Linked DNA regions of Homo sapiens: all the other regions are linked to region 4. The links are contacts of gene promoters, found by promoter capture Hi-C in human tissues and cell types (Jung and others, 2019). All regions are on one chromosome and are shown on one strand. Each heading gives the region's core, a stretch centred on a gene start or on the middle of the fragment in contact. The rest is flanking DNA. Distances are from core to core; before and after follow the strand shown. Region 1 has its middle 50 kb from the start of TMEM144. Region 2 overlaps SPMIP2 (sperm microtubule inner protein 2). Region 3 overlaps TMEM144 (transmembrane protein 144). Region 4 holds the start of C4orf46 (chromosome 4 open reading frame 46). Region 5 holds the start of LOC101928007 (a long non-coding RNA gene).

What was found. Contacts are between HindIII fragments. The study calls those that stand out against the background at their distance.
Region 1: a fragment that was not itself captured here is called in contact with the fragment with the promoter of C4orf46 in region 4 in 1 of the 25 tissues and cell types used here (stomach).
Region 2: a contact is called between a fragment that was not itself captured here and the fragment with the promoter of C4orf46 in region 4, in 1 of the 25 tissues and cell types used here (mesendoderm cells).
Region 3: a fragment that was not itself captured here is called in contact with the fragment with the promoter of C4orf46 in region 4 in 1 of the 25 tissues and cell types used here (mesendoderm cells).
Region 5: a fragment that was not itself captured here is called in contact with the fragment with the promoter of C4orf46 in region 4 in 1 of the 25 tissues and cell types used here (dorsolateral prefrontal cortex).

Annotation. Positions count from the first base shown.
Region 1 is chr4:158,258,983-158,261,682 of GRCh38, reverse strand. No RefSeq gene overlaps it. Among named protein-coding and RNA genes, the nearest start is that of TMEM144, 50 kb to the right of the region's middle. The HindIII fragment of the contact is 6,186 bases long and covers 1-2,700 here.
Region 2 is chr4:159,031,912-159,034,611 of GRCh38, reverse strand. The region is part of intron 1 of SPMIP2 (sperm microtubule inner protein 2); the gene reads left to right. Among named protein-coding and RNA genes, the nearest start is that of SPMIP2, 2.0 kb to the left of the region's middle. The HindIII fragment of the contact is 4,562 bases long and covers 1-2,700 here.
Region 3 is chr4:158,241,495-158,244,194 of GRCh38, reverse strand. TMEM144 (transmembrane protein 144) reads right to left here. Exons shown (of 13, transcript NM_018342.5): 11 at 2,589-2,686. Among named protein-coding and RNA genes, the nearest start is that of TMEM144, 32 kb to the right of the region's middle. The HindIII fragment of the contact is 5,294 bases long and covers 1-2,700 here.
Region 4 is chr4:158,670,631-158,673,330 of GRCh38, reverse strand. C4orf46 (chromosome 4 open reading frame 46) reads left to right here and starts at 1,444. Exons shown (of 2, transcript NM_001008393.4): 1 at 1,444-1,715. The coding sequence starts at 1,530. ETFDH (electron transfer flavoprotein dehydrogenase) reads right to left here and starts at 1,035. Exons shown (of 13, transcript NM_004453.4): 1 at 841-1,035. The coding sequence starts at 874. RefSeq lists enhancers at 687-1,188, 790-1,349, 1,192-1,828, 1,829-2,465 and a silencer at 1,770-1,839. The HindIII fragment of the contact is 11,975 bases long and covers 1-2,700 here.
Region 5 is chr4:158,181,442-158,184,141 of GRCh38, reverse strand. The region is part of intron 2 of GASK1B-AS1 (GASK1B antisense RNA 1); the gene reads right to left. LOC101928007 (a long non-coding RNA gene) reads left to right here and starts at 1,917. Exons shown (of 4, transcript XR_007058350.1): 1 at 1,917-2,076. It also overlaps the pseudogene NUDT19P5. The HindIII fragment of the contact is 4,910 bases long and covers 1-2,700 here.

The DNA.
Region 1 (2,700 bases), core at 96-2,595, 410 kb after region 4:
ATTTCCCATAGCCTTTTCTGAAAAGTTTGCCTGAATGAATAGTAAGTCAAACAGCGGGGGCTGCAGAACCCAGGAAAATCACATAAAGGTTAAGGAAAATGACATTTTCTTCCTTTTATTTATGATCTTGAATCATCTTTTCAGGAGGTAAATCAGTCTTACAAAGCATCGAAGATAAGCAATGATTAGGTATTTAGAATTTTTGCAATAGCCATAGAAAAGGTACATATTTACATAAAATAGTACAGCATGTAGAGTCTTTGGTGTTTGCAAAAAAAATCCCTCATATGAAAGTGTCCAATACCAAGTTGCTTTCCCATCTCTCTACTCCTCATAAAATACACAAAATATATTAAAATATATTGTGAGATTTAGTTTTATATATTTCCTGACCTCATATTTAGTATGTCACATTCCCATATTAAAGTTGATGATTTTATTACCAATACAGCACATACATAATATTTGAATTTCAGACTTGAGATCCTCAATAAGAAGCATCATGAGTAAGATGATGTAAGTGAGGTGACAGGATTCTAAATGACCTTTAGTGTGTAAATAGAGAGAAATAAAAATTCTGCAAAATATCTCAGCTTATGATTTGAGCATGTTAGACATGTCCAATTTTCCTATTTTTGTGGAATTTGTCTCATAGTGATTTTCCATTAGGCATTTCAGAGCTGAAATAAACAACAGGCTCATGTGCTATCCCACTTTATGTCAAACTTTTACCGTAGTGAAACATCATTCTGTGCTCAGGAAATAGGAACGCATCTTCCTCAATTCAGTCTACAAGTGATGGCAAATGCTGTAAGAATCCATATTCAGTGAACATCCAATTACAACAAATGATTGACATAGTAGGCTATTGAGAAAACATTTCTGCCTCGTGCTTGCAAAAAGTCTTCAAAAATAACAGGGCAAATAGTTCCAGGTCTCTGTGACCTAAAAAGTCTAACGAAGCCAAAGAATTACTAGAGCATCTTAGAGAAACCTGAGGCCATTCAGCCTAATCATTTAGTGATGATGTCTTTGTTTTTAGGTCAGAGAAAAATGTGCCTTCTAGCTTAATATTTATTCAGCAGCACTCATTAATGTTGGTAGCACTGGCTGTGAGCCTTCTTCTACGTCCTGAATATTCTAGGGCAAGAACAGACTCTTCTGTTTAAATAAGTCTAAAAATTGAATTGTTTTGTGATGTCTTCAACTTCTAGGAAATTATAAAAGCCAAATATAATAATAAAGCAAAAGAGTGATGAAAACTCGATGACTGAAAAGCAGACATCACATTGACAATTAGACTGATAGCATGGGAAATAGAAGATAGGTTTCTTTTTTTATAGTTCAGCTTTTAAGAATCTATAAATGGCAAAATATGGTCATTTGAGAGCAGAGATACAGGAGAGAGAGAAGAAGGGAAGGAGGGAAGGAGAGGGAGAGACAGAGCCCAAACTTAAAAAAAGTTTACATTTTATAACATAGACCACCACAGACTATCATAATTAACCCTATACTTCCCTCTGGTGGTCAAATTTGAAAATGTATTTACAGATGAATTAAATGAAGATTAATATACAGTAATAACTAAAGGTAAGACAACCAGATACCTCATTTTGTGTGAAGATTCCATTTTAACCAACTACCTAACTCCAACATTTCCCCTAGTTATTAAAGTTGAATGACTCTTCTGTGGAGAGGTCCCAATTCGCATAAACTTTCCTAACATGTGGCAGGGACTATACATAGCAAGTTGTATTTCATGGTACTAATTATATACGTAGGATGTGGATATTCATTTATGCTATAATTTATGCAAAAATAATAGGAAAGAATATTTTCCTGGATTTCTTAAACTACTTAAATTTTAAGAAAGTAGTCTATGAATTATTTCATGATGTATTGTGTCATGCACTTTAAAATAAAAATTTTAGGAACACAGAGACATACATTATTAAGATTAAGATTCTAAAATCAGAATATCAGATTTTAGAATCTTAATCCAGCAACCAAACCTGGTGTTTTTGGGTGGTTACTGTTTGTGAATGTCAGATACATCTTACAGGTACTGATATTTTTTTTTTTCCTTAAGGGAGCAATGTATAATTCATTACAGCTTTAATAAATTTAATATTTTAAATTTCAAAATTACTTAGAATATTAATTTTTCTATTTAGAGAAAAACTAAAGCCTGCACCAACATGTTTTCCTTGGCTGCTTAGTTTTAATGTCATCCCTGATAATTTCATATGGGAGCCAATATAATTTATTTTTGTGAATGTACTCCTTGAGCCTCAAAGAAAAAAAACAAGAAAAAAAGAAAAACCTAAGTAATTTTATTTGGCTCCTTTTTTTATTCTAACTGTAAAATACTCTTTGAACCGAGGAAGATGTGACAGGAATTACAAGTTTTACCTTTGTTCTTTCTGACAACTAAAGAGTATTTAAAAGGGTTTCCCATTAAACTTTTTAAGTTTTATCCACTGTATTAATTGGATGTGAGCTATTATGAAAATGATTACAGAGTGAAAGTGTAAATTGTCTTGAATTTGAATGTCTTTTAATTAAGCAGTTTCTCAAACTGCTTCTTTCAGTGTGAAACCTAAATAGGAGACACAAGATAATTTTAGCACCAAATGAGGCCTTTAGGATTTAGCTTACTTGCATTCATTCAGTAAATATTCATTGTACTTATTTTGCAAA
Region 2 (2,700 bases), core at 42-2,541, 360 kb before region 4:
ACCCACCTACATTTAATTTACATGATACTGCTATCTCATTATGCCCACTCAGTCTGATCATCATCATCTTGTTGCCATAAACATGTCTTTAACACAGCAGTTGTCACTATATCTGAGGTAACTTTCACAAAGGAATATTTGAATTAGCATAGCTTTTATGGTTTGTGCAAGAGAAACTTCTTTGATGTAATAAAAAACATACTTTTCATCGAATTTTTATTAACACTGATTTAAGCTTCTCATAACATTATAAACTTGACATATTTGCTTGATAAAAATTTGAGCAGGATATGCATTAAACCTAGTAAAGTGATTGGTTTGAGTTTTGTTCATTCAGCTTACTTTAAATGATTTGGGCAGTGTGTGTGAAATTATAATAATATCTAAAAAATAGAAGATGACTAGTTGTGGTAAGTCTATAAGGCATAAACTAAACTTCATTTTATTTCCTTTTTTTCCAAATTATTTATTTTTTGAGACAGAGTCTCGCCCTGTTGCCCAGACTAGGGTGCAATGGCACGATCTGGGCTCTCTGCACCCTCCACCTCCCAGGTTCAAGTGTTTCTCCTGCCTCAGTCTCCCGAGTAGCTAGGACTATAGGCACATGCCACCACATGTGGTTGTTTATTTATTTATTTATTTTGTACTTTTAGTAGAAATGGGGTTTCACCATGTTGGCTAGGCTGGTCTCGAACTCCTGACCTCAAGTGATCCACCCACCTGTGTCGGGATTCCAGGCGTGAACCTGGCCTTTTTTTCTTTTTTTCCAAAGTGTGAGCATATTTTACAATGTTACAGAAAAATAATCAAATGCATATTTATGGTGGGCATTTATGATTTGTGTTGCTCATCATCCATCTCATCCACTCCCCTTCTTGTGACTCACTTGGCTTTGGGAAAAACATCTCTTTCCTCACTCTTACCTCTTTTTTACTCCTGTGAGAAGGACTTTGTCAACAAGAGTACACTGCTTATCTGCAATTCCTTTTGCCTTTATTCTTATAAACTCTATTCATTTCCAAAGTTACTTAAGTCTGCACATTTTCTTTCTAGCCTCTTCAGTAAGGTTGTTTTATGCACTTGTAATACAGTTAGATTTTCTTGTCACAGTCTGAATTCCTTCCTGAAATCCTACAATCTCGTAAATAATTTTTTTTAATTTGCATCCATTAAGGTTTGCTTTTTATGCTATTAAATATATGGGGGTCTTGACAAATTAATAGGACCATGTATTCACCATTATAGTACCATACGTTATGGTTTCACCACTTAAAAAATCTCTTGTGCTTCACCTATTCATTCCCCCCTCCCCCTTTCCCCCTAGCTCCTGGCAACCACTGATCTTTTCACTGTCTCCACAGTTTTGCCTTTTCTTGAATGTCACAGAGCTGGAGTTATACAGTATGTAGTCTTTTCAGATTGGCTTCATTTCCTCATCAATATCATTTTAAGGCTTCTCCACATCTTTTCATGGTTTGATAGCTTATTTCTTTTTACCACTGAATAATATTTCACTGTGTGGATGTGTCACAATTTGTTCATCCCTTCCCCTATCGAAAGACATCTTGGTGGCTTCCAGTTTTTGGCAATTGTGAGAAATGCTTCTATGTACATTTATGTGCAGCCTTTTGCATGGATATGTTTTCAAATCAATTTGGTAAATACCTAGGAGAGTAATTGCTGGATCCTGTGTTAAGCCAAACTGTCTTCTAAACTAGCTATACTATTTTGCATGTCCATCAGCAATGAATGAGAGTCCTTGTTGCTTTGTGTCCTTGTCAGCCTTTGGTATTGTCTGTTTTTGACTTTTTTACCAAAAAAAAAAAAAAAGAAAGGTCATTTAGATTTTTATCCTGTGTTTTCTTTTAGACATTTTACAATGTTACGTTTTCATTTAGGTCTATAATCTATTTTGAAGAGATTTTTGTGCCTTTTAAAGTTTTAATTTTCATCAGCCAATAAATCTCCTCTTTTCCTTAGCCAGTTTGGGTTGGGTTTTCTGTCATTTGGAACTGTGCAAGAGTCTTAATTAACACTTAAAATTTCTTCTAACTTACACCAGTGTATATACTTAGTTTTATGTATTTACATAGTTCAAATTGTTGTCACCTTTGATAGATTTCTGCCTTTCATTATACTGACATATAATACTTAGCTTCACAGCCTCCTGTATTTTATAATTTCCTAATTTTTACTGTTACAAATTTGTATGAATACTTTGCATAAATTATTTTTCTTGTTCTCTTATTTTCATGTGGTATATATAGAGAGAGCAGAATTAGCAGGTGAAAGATACAAACAGATATATAACTTATTAATGCCACAAGCTTTAGAGAATTGTATATACTATGAACAATGTATACGTATTTAAAGCCCAACAATTTTTTTTTTTGAGACAGTCTCCCTCTGTTGCTCAGGCTGGAGTGCAGTGGTATGATCTCAGCTCACTGCAGTCTCTCCCTCCAGGGTTCAAGTGATTCTCGTGCCTCAGCCTCCTAAGTAGCTGGAATTACAGACGTGAGCCACCATGCCCACTAATTTTTTGTATTTTTAGTAGAGATGGGGTTTCACCATGTTGGCCAGGCTGGTCTCAAACTCCTGACCTCCGGTGATCTGCCCGCCTCAGCCTCCCAAAGTGCTGGGATTACAGGCATGAGCCACCACAACCGGCCCCCATCAATATTTTTTAAAATCATTTTT
Region 3 (2,700 bases), core at 20-2,519, 430 kb after region 4:
AAAACTACCCATAATATCAACCCTAACTCCACACTAAGCTAAACTTTAGGTGATATTAAGTAAAAAAAATGAAGACTTTTTTTCATTTTCTTTTCTTCATGGTCTTCATTTTGATTATTTTGATGATGCTATAATATTTTGTGCCACATAATACTTTAATATATCTGACATAAATTATTTTTATAAGCACATAGCTTATTTTTTCCATTGGCCTAGTTCCTTAGGATACTAGAAATGGGATTAATAAGAAAAAGTGTGCACAAGCTTCTAACTTTCTTTGGCATGAGATAATCTTGTAACTGAAGAAATTTTGGCATATTCTTTTTGGCCTAACAAATAATGTACTTGTGGAAGTAGCTCGTGCTTTAAAAATTTTTTTAACTGATATTACTACAGAGCAATCAAGTCTGGCTAACATTAAACACCAATGAATGCTAAAAAAAGGTTTATGGGAAGATTAAAATAAACGTGTAAGGAAAAACAATAGGGGTTTCTGGGCAGGAGACAAAGAAAAGAATGAAATAATACAGGACAGAGGAAATGAGAAGAAACAGGTGAAAAAAAGGAATGGTTCTGCAATTTATAAACTTTAAGCTATTCAAGTTTGGTGGTAATTCTTCTTAGCTGAGAAGGAAGAAAATTGGAATGCGGGCTAGGTGTGGTCTTTGTGGAGAAGGTGTATTGTATCAGCATTTTTATGATTGCTCTTCAAACTCCGAGAAACTCTGGAAGAGTTTCAAATAGATTCCAAAATGTTTTTCCCCTACCACTACTCCAACTGACAAAAGGACTGAGTCAATGAAGTTTGATTCCACTCTTGGTATGTAAGTGAAACAAAAAAAATACACTCCTCTCTGTTTATCAGTATCTGGAAAGTCAACATCAAAAGAGCCAGAGAAATAGGTCAAAGGAACTGCCTTTTATCAATGATGTAAGTTCCTAAGCCTCAAAATCCAAATCAAACAAGAAGCATATGGGTCTTTTAGGCAACCCACACTGACTTTCAACAGAATGAGAGGAAACAATAGAACAGAGGATACCATATTAATGTTATGCTAATCACTCAAGAATTTTTAATCTGAAAATCCATTTCCCTTCAGAGAACATGGTACAGGACAATACCACAAGGTATCATTGACCTTTGAAGATTCTTGTCTGATTGTTTTCTAAATATGAGTTTAAGCATGGCCTAAGAGTTATCGTGAGTAGTGTGGTTACAGGAAGGGTGCTTTGGTAAAAGTAATGCAAGCATAGGTCAAAGTATGTACTGACTCTTTGATTCAGGCCAAGGAGAGCCAAATAGGAAGGACATCTTCATAGGAGATACAACAGTTTTGGTAATTTGGATTGTATATTTTCCTTTTGTAAACTAATGTAAGTTAGGTGTAAATCAGCCTTTGAAAACAAAGTGAACTCGCTCCTATCTTAAGATTAAGCTGATTCAGTTTAGAATTATCAAGGAAGACATGGAGCAGAGGTAACAGCCCCTGCTAGGTGACTTTTTTCTTTCTTTCTTTCTTTTTTTTTAGCTTTTTAATGGAATGTTATTTGCTAATAAACAAAGTGGATACTACTTTCAAGGAACTCAGTCTAGTTACCACTGGATATATAACTATGGGAATATGTATACCTGAGAAGAACAGCACTGCTGGGATATTTAAAATGTATTCTGATAAAATTGATTGACCATATTCATAATTGTTGAAACTAGGTGATAGGTTCGTTTGACATTTTAAGTTTAAAAAAGTTTTAAAAATCTAGCCCTACCAAAAAAATAAAATAATGAAGAATGTAAGATTGTTGAGGGTAGGGACTAACTCTTCTGTGTGTAGATAAGGTTGTCCTTGGATAAAGTGACTAAAATAAAACCAAGCAAGGGCCTGGTAGCAATAGGGACCTACTCCCTCACCAATTCCAAATACCTGTCCTTCCCAGATAACAAGCACCAAGCGCACAAGGTAAGAAAGTTATGCCTGGTGAGTGAGAAGGCTTTGCTTCCATTACAGTTTTTCAAGAATAATCTCTGTGATGGGCAGGTTGCCAAAAGCCACAGTGACCACTTTCACTGATCCTCTGCCCACACTCACCTACTTCAGTGGTTTATTTCCTTTGAATTAGGCTTTCATTTTGTCCTCAGTCTTTATTCTAACTCAAAACAAGAAACAATGGTAGAAAAACCAACTCTCTGTCTACTATAAAAGTTTTGTGAAGGATATTGTTTGTTTGTTTTTCAATGTTCCCTTTAAGAGGTCCCATATTTATAAACTTTTATATAAGGAGAGAATAATAGTTATCAATAGCAAATTACAATGTCGCTAAAATTACATTAGATAAACCAATCAAACCAAAAACTGCAAGGATATTAAAGATTAAGGAGTAACAGCCCTGCTAAAATGAGGTGAGAAATGTTCCTTAGCAATCAAGCACATGAAGATTCAAGAGGGTCAGTTTATCTATCTGAATCCATTAATTGTATTCCTAAAAAATCAAACTCCATGACAGTCTTTAGCGATGCCCTAAGAGTGCTTCAGAAAAATTGGGTTTACATTTATAAAATGAAAATTAGGAAAACCAGTTCAGCTACTTACAGCAGTGATTATTGGAAAACTGACCACAGCACTCAGAGAGTGATTTGCTATGAACCAACAGCAGGTAGCTATAGCCCAAAGTACTCCTGACAGGAATCCTGAAATACAAAGA
Region 4 (2,700 bases), core at 195-2,694:
TAGAGTTAATTTAATTTAATTTTTTTTTGAGACGGAGTCTGGCTCTTTCACCTAGGCTGGAGTGCAGTGGTGCGATCTCAGCTCACTGCAACCTCCACCTCCGGGTTCAAGTGATTCTCCTACCTAAGCCTCCTGAGTAGCTGGGATTACAGGAGTGGGCCACAACGCCCAGCTAATTTTTGTATTTTTAGTAGAGATGGGGTTTCACAATGTTGGCCAGGCTGGTCTTGAACTCCTGACCTCAGGTGATCCATCCGCCTCAGCCTCCCAGAGTGCTGGGATTACAGGCTTGAGCCACCACGCCCAGCCCTTAATTTTAGACAACGCAGAAAAACTGGCTCCAGATACACTTGGGTGACTTGGTCAACATATGAATGTTAACCATGATGTGACAGATCAGACTTCAATTTCTTTAGACTGAACTAGAATGGCTCCGAAGACGAAAGTCAGGTCAGGACCAGGGAGAAAAACTGGGCAAATACGATTTTTTTTTTTCCATTTCCAACAGAGGTTTGAAGATTAGAACCAGGATTTGGGAAGCCTCAGTTCAGGAGTCCACCGAGGTGTGTGTGTGTTGACAGGTGGTGGTGATGCCGAGGGCGTGTTGACAAGTTTTCCCCGCCCTTGACCTTTAGCCTAGATATTAATTCTACCAACTGGGGCAACCCCAGAGGGAGGAAGCCAGGGTCCCCCAACAGGCTGACAGCGCGTGACCTTTGCCCTAGATAGCCTGAGAAAGCTGATGAGAGAAGGGGCGAGAGGTGCCTACAGCCCCCAGGACCGGCCTTGTCCCTTTTGCCCTAACTCCTCCACTTATCCCCACCGCCCGTTTCCTCTCACCCAGGCAGGACAGCTTGGCTAGCGGCACCAGCATGTTCAAAGTCACCAGGACTCTCGGTCGGACACAACAGGAGGACTGTCCGCTGCTCGCGGCGGGCGCTGGACCTCTAGGCCGCGGGGGGCGCCATCACCTGCCGGAAAGCAAGAACTCTGCTGCAGTTCGCCTCCCCGCTCTGCCGACCGCTCTTGCTTCACGGCGTTCCCACCTCCTTCTCGCTCTGCGCCGGCGCCATGGATGACGCAACGGCCAGCCGAGGCTTCCGGGTCATGTACCAAACCAGGGAAAGATAAGGGACTCCAAGTCCCAGCCGGGGAGCGGTGAAACAGCCACAGCGCGGCCAGAGGGGTCCGCGAATCCCACAGCACGACGCACGCGCAGTGAAAGGCAGTAGAAGGCGGGGCGACGCACACGGCTTCCTGGGAGGTGTAGTTTTCTCTACGAGTGCCCTTCGAGATCGATTGGAGGCTCGCGCAGGAGCCGTGAGTTGCCTAAGGTGAATTGACTCATATGATTGGCTGTCCCGAAAAATGAAACGTCTTTGTGGTCCGGGGCTGAGACCCACGAGGAGACTGGGCGGGATTTCTGGCGTTAGGAGGCGGGGCCTTTCGGCTTTGGGCGCGAGTGGTTAAAAGACAGTTGGTGTCGGTTCGGCTTCTCGGGTCGGATTCCGCGGTCCCAACCCTTCCCCATGGCCGACCCTGAGGAGTTGCAGGTTTCTTCGCCGCCCCCGCCGCCTCCCTCTTCTCCCTCCTCTTCAGACGCCTCTGCAGCATCTTCCCCGGGCGGCCCAGTGAGTTTGGGCTGGCCAGTTCCGAGCAGGAGCAGCGGCCCAACGGTGGACCAGCTGGAGGAAGTGGAGCTGCAGATCGGAGACGTGAGTGTGGTGTCGGGACCGCGTCCCCCCTCGGCGCCTCTGGGAAGACCGGCGGCGGCGGGGCTCGCGAGGCTAGGGAATCGGTCCCCCAACCCCCATGACCCGGGACGACCGGCCCTTCTGCGCCCCAGAGCGTGCGGGCGGGAAGCGGGGGGGATGCCAGCAGCTAAAGTGCCACCCCTCTCTGAGGGTTCCCCCTTTAGATTTAGTGGTGAGGAGTCTTAAGGGGTTTTCCTTCCACCCGCCCCACCCCTCACTGGTTTCTTTTTGTCTCGCCTTCTGGTTTCAATCATCCGCAGTAACCCGAAGCCACGCAGCTCTGCGCTGCCTGTTGCTGGCTCTCTGCCTCCTCCTTTCCCATCGGAGAATAGTTTTCATTGCATGGGTTTCGGAGAATAGTTTTCACTGCATGAGTTTGCTGGCTTTCTGTGGGTACTTGAGATCAGGCTGTGATTTCTTTCCATGGGACTTAGAGCCTGCTGTTCTAGTTGGCCACCTGCCCAGGGACAGCTGATAATGCCATTGTCTGCCCCAGGCCTGCTTAGCGCTGGACCCAGCTTGAAGGGTTTAGGTCACGTGGATTGGCTTCTTTGACGGTTTAGTTCAGGACTCCTCCCTTTGTATGATTGCTAGAATGCATACTTAGGATAGTTTCTGTTAAATCTCGAATCCCCAGAAACTAGCACCCCACCTCCCAACCGTAACTCACACACCACTGGAGGGGAGAAGACAGGGAAGGGGAGTTTTATGTTCTCTTGAGTGGGTCAAGTGGAATGAGGTATGTAGAGTGTAACCTGGGAGAGTTCTGTGGCCTGACCTTTCCTGCAGATTGGAAACTAGGGGATGAACTAGATTATCTCATTGCTCCGCAAGTATTTTTTTTTAAGGATGACTAGAGTGCTTAACCAGCTTTTATTTTTGCAGAACAAACTGATTGCAAGTAAATATGTAGAATGAAGTGCTAATGTGTTATTGAGGAACACTG
Region 5 (2,700 bases), core at 87-2,586, 490 kb after region 4:
ATAAACATTATTCCTCTTTAGAGGAGGTAAAAAAACCCATATAAAATATACTGAAAATAAATTTCATTAAACATTAAATGATGAATAGTTCTAAATCTATCTTCTTTGCATTCATTAACTAGCACTTCAGAGCAAAAATAATGGTAGCTTTTGTTATGGCTTCATATTTCTTTAAAATATTGACTTAAAATAGATTTTCAATCTGGGGAATAGATAAGAACTAATGCCATTTGGTTTTAAATAGAATTGTGTTGTAATCCTCAAGCTAAAGGCATAGCAAAAAAAAAAAAAATGACAACATCACTGGAAATTTGCCTCAGTCTACTTACTGTTCACCATTTAATTAGACACTTTTTAATTCTGGCAGAAAGTCTAAGGAATTCATGGATCCACCTTCTAAGCACATCAAGGAGTGTTAATACACTGGACAGTTAGAACAATGGCAGCAGAACATCTTATTTAAACTCTTGACATAATAAAATAATTTTTTCTTGTTTTGGTAATAATATCATTAATACTTTACAGTTGTGGCATACTACAATGTTAAAGATTCAATTAAGCAAGAGAGCACCATAATACACTTTAAATAAGACTGCTATAACTTTCACAGGCACGGTTTCAAACAAGACTAGTCAACCCTCATTATTCATTAGGACTACTTCATATAAGTCAGCTTACCAATAAGTAGCATTTTACAAAAGCCTCTTATCTACTGACTTACCATATAGGTCTTAGGAAAAATGTTTTATTTTTGAATAGTTATATGGATACTATAAAGATGGTGACTGTTTATCACTATGTTGTGAAATTTCTTGCCTTCCTTCAATTTTTTTTTTAAGTGGAGAAATGATTTTCTAAAAAGTCTGAGTCTTCTAAGCATAGCTCATCTCCTGGTAAAAATTGCAGTGCTCCATTAGTTAATAATGCCATCGCAAGCCGTCCTTTTCTCTCTTCTAATGTACCATACAAACAAAATTTGTGCAAGTCAAAGAGCAGGGCAAAGTTTTCATACTTCATAGAGCTTTAAGTAAGTTTATTTCATAGAACTGTGGGAGTGCCAGCCAAAGAGCTTCCAGTATGAAACTTTCAGTTGCCTTTATGGAGATGGCCACTGGCAGCCTACCACCTTGGTCATGCTCCCGTGGGCAGGCAGGGAGAAGGCAGCTTGCGCAGACAGCACAGAAAAAAGGCCTTTGGATAGAGGCGACTTCCCAGGCTCGTGAGCTGCAAGAGCCAGGCGCTCCAGTAGCACAGAGCCCGGAAATCGGGCACGCAGTCGGAGCGTGCGTGCAGGCACAGGAAGTGACGCAGAGTTGATGCGTCAGGCTTAGGCTCAGACTGCAGTGACAGCAGCTGCGTTCAGGTCTTCTCGAGTTCCTGAAGGATGGAGCCTGGGTTTTTTTTTTTTTTTTTTAATTTATTTCTAAATTTCCCCCCTTTTCCCTCTGTGTTGGTCATTTGCTGTTGTTATTTTTGACATGTTTTATAATTTTCAGTCGGTTTTCAGAATATAGATAGCATACTGTACATTCTCTATATGATGTTCCCACGAAAGTGCTGTTTTTATTTTTTAGTTATAAAGCACTTCAGTGAATGACTTTGATCCAGTTGAGACTTAGTTTTAAGCTTTGTTATACTTGACCTTTTTAATTTGCTACTTACAGGATGTGACCATTAATCTTAGAAAGTAGCTTTGCCCAAGTCCTGGACCTAGGTTTAGCACGCTCCCTCTGGATTTAATTCTAATCTCTAACTCCTCAGTGCCATTCAGCTGCTGAAATCTCTGCTCAGCATTCAAGCTTTCTGTTTGCTGTTTCCCACTACATATCTTGAAGGCTTGCCTTGTACATGCACAAGTCAGAAATTTACCCACAATTTGAGGGAAATTAGGATGCAGATTTGGGGACACTCTCTTAGCTTCCTGTCTTTTTCAATAGTTTGCTCCTCAAATCACAGCTCCTTTGGCGTCCTGAAACGCCAGACTTTGTCTCCTCTGACGTGTGAAACTCCTGCTTTCTTCTTGGGCTCTTTTCGCCTTCACCACAACTTGGAAAATGCCCCCAGGAAAATTCCGAGGTGAATGTTGAATACATCTTGTGTGCTTCCCTTTCTCAAGGATTTTAGCTGCTCAATATTACTTGCACTGGCTCTCCAATGCCTTCAGAAGATTGTTTATATATATATATTTTTCCAATTTTTAAACTTATTTTTGGTAGGAGGTTTAGTTAAATGTAAGCTACACTGTTGACTCCAGGGCCCAACATTTTATCCAGTGAATTTTAATTTGAACAGTTTTATCATTTCTAAATGTTATTTTAAGATTTCTTTTTAATGTGTACCCAATCATTTTTAAAACCTTTTGTTGCATGTTCCCTTTGTCTTCCTTTAAACAGTTTATATTTATCTATCTATATTTATGTTTGGATTCAAATAATTCCAAAAATTCTCTCTCTCTTTGTGTTTTTTTTTTCTTTGTATGCTTGTGATTTCTAATATTAACCGCAGATACCTTGATGTCATTTATGGAAGTTTTAAATTTCAGAATCTTTCATTTTTAGGAAATTTGTAAACAATGGATTATATGCATTTTTTCCTTATTTATTCTGGGTCTAGGTTTTAGGTAAGATGGCCTTTGAGAGTTTCCAGCCTGACAATATATACTGCTTGAAACAGAAAGTTATACATTTTAATTTTGAATTG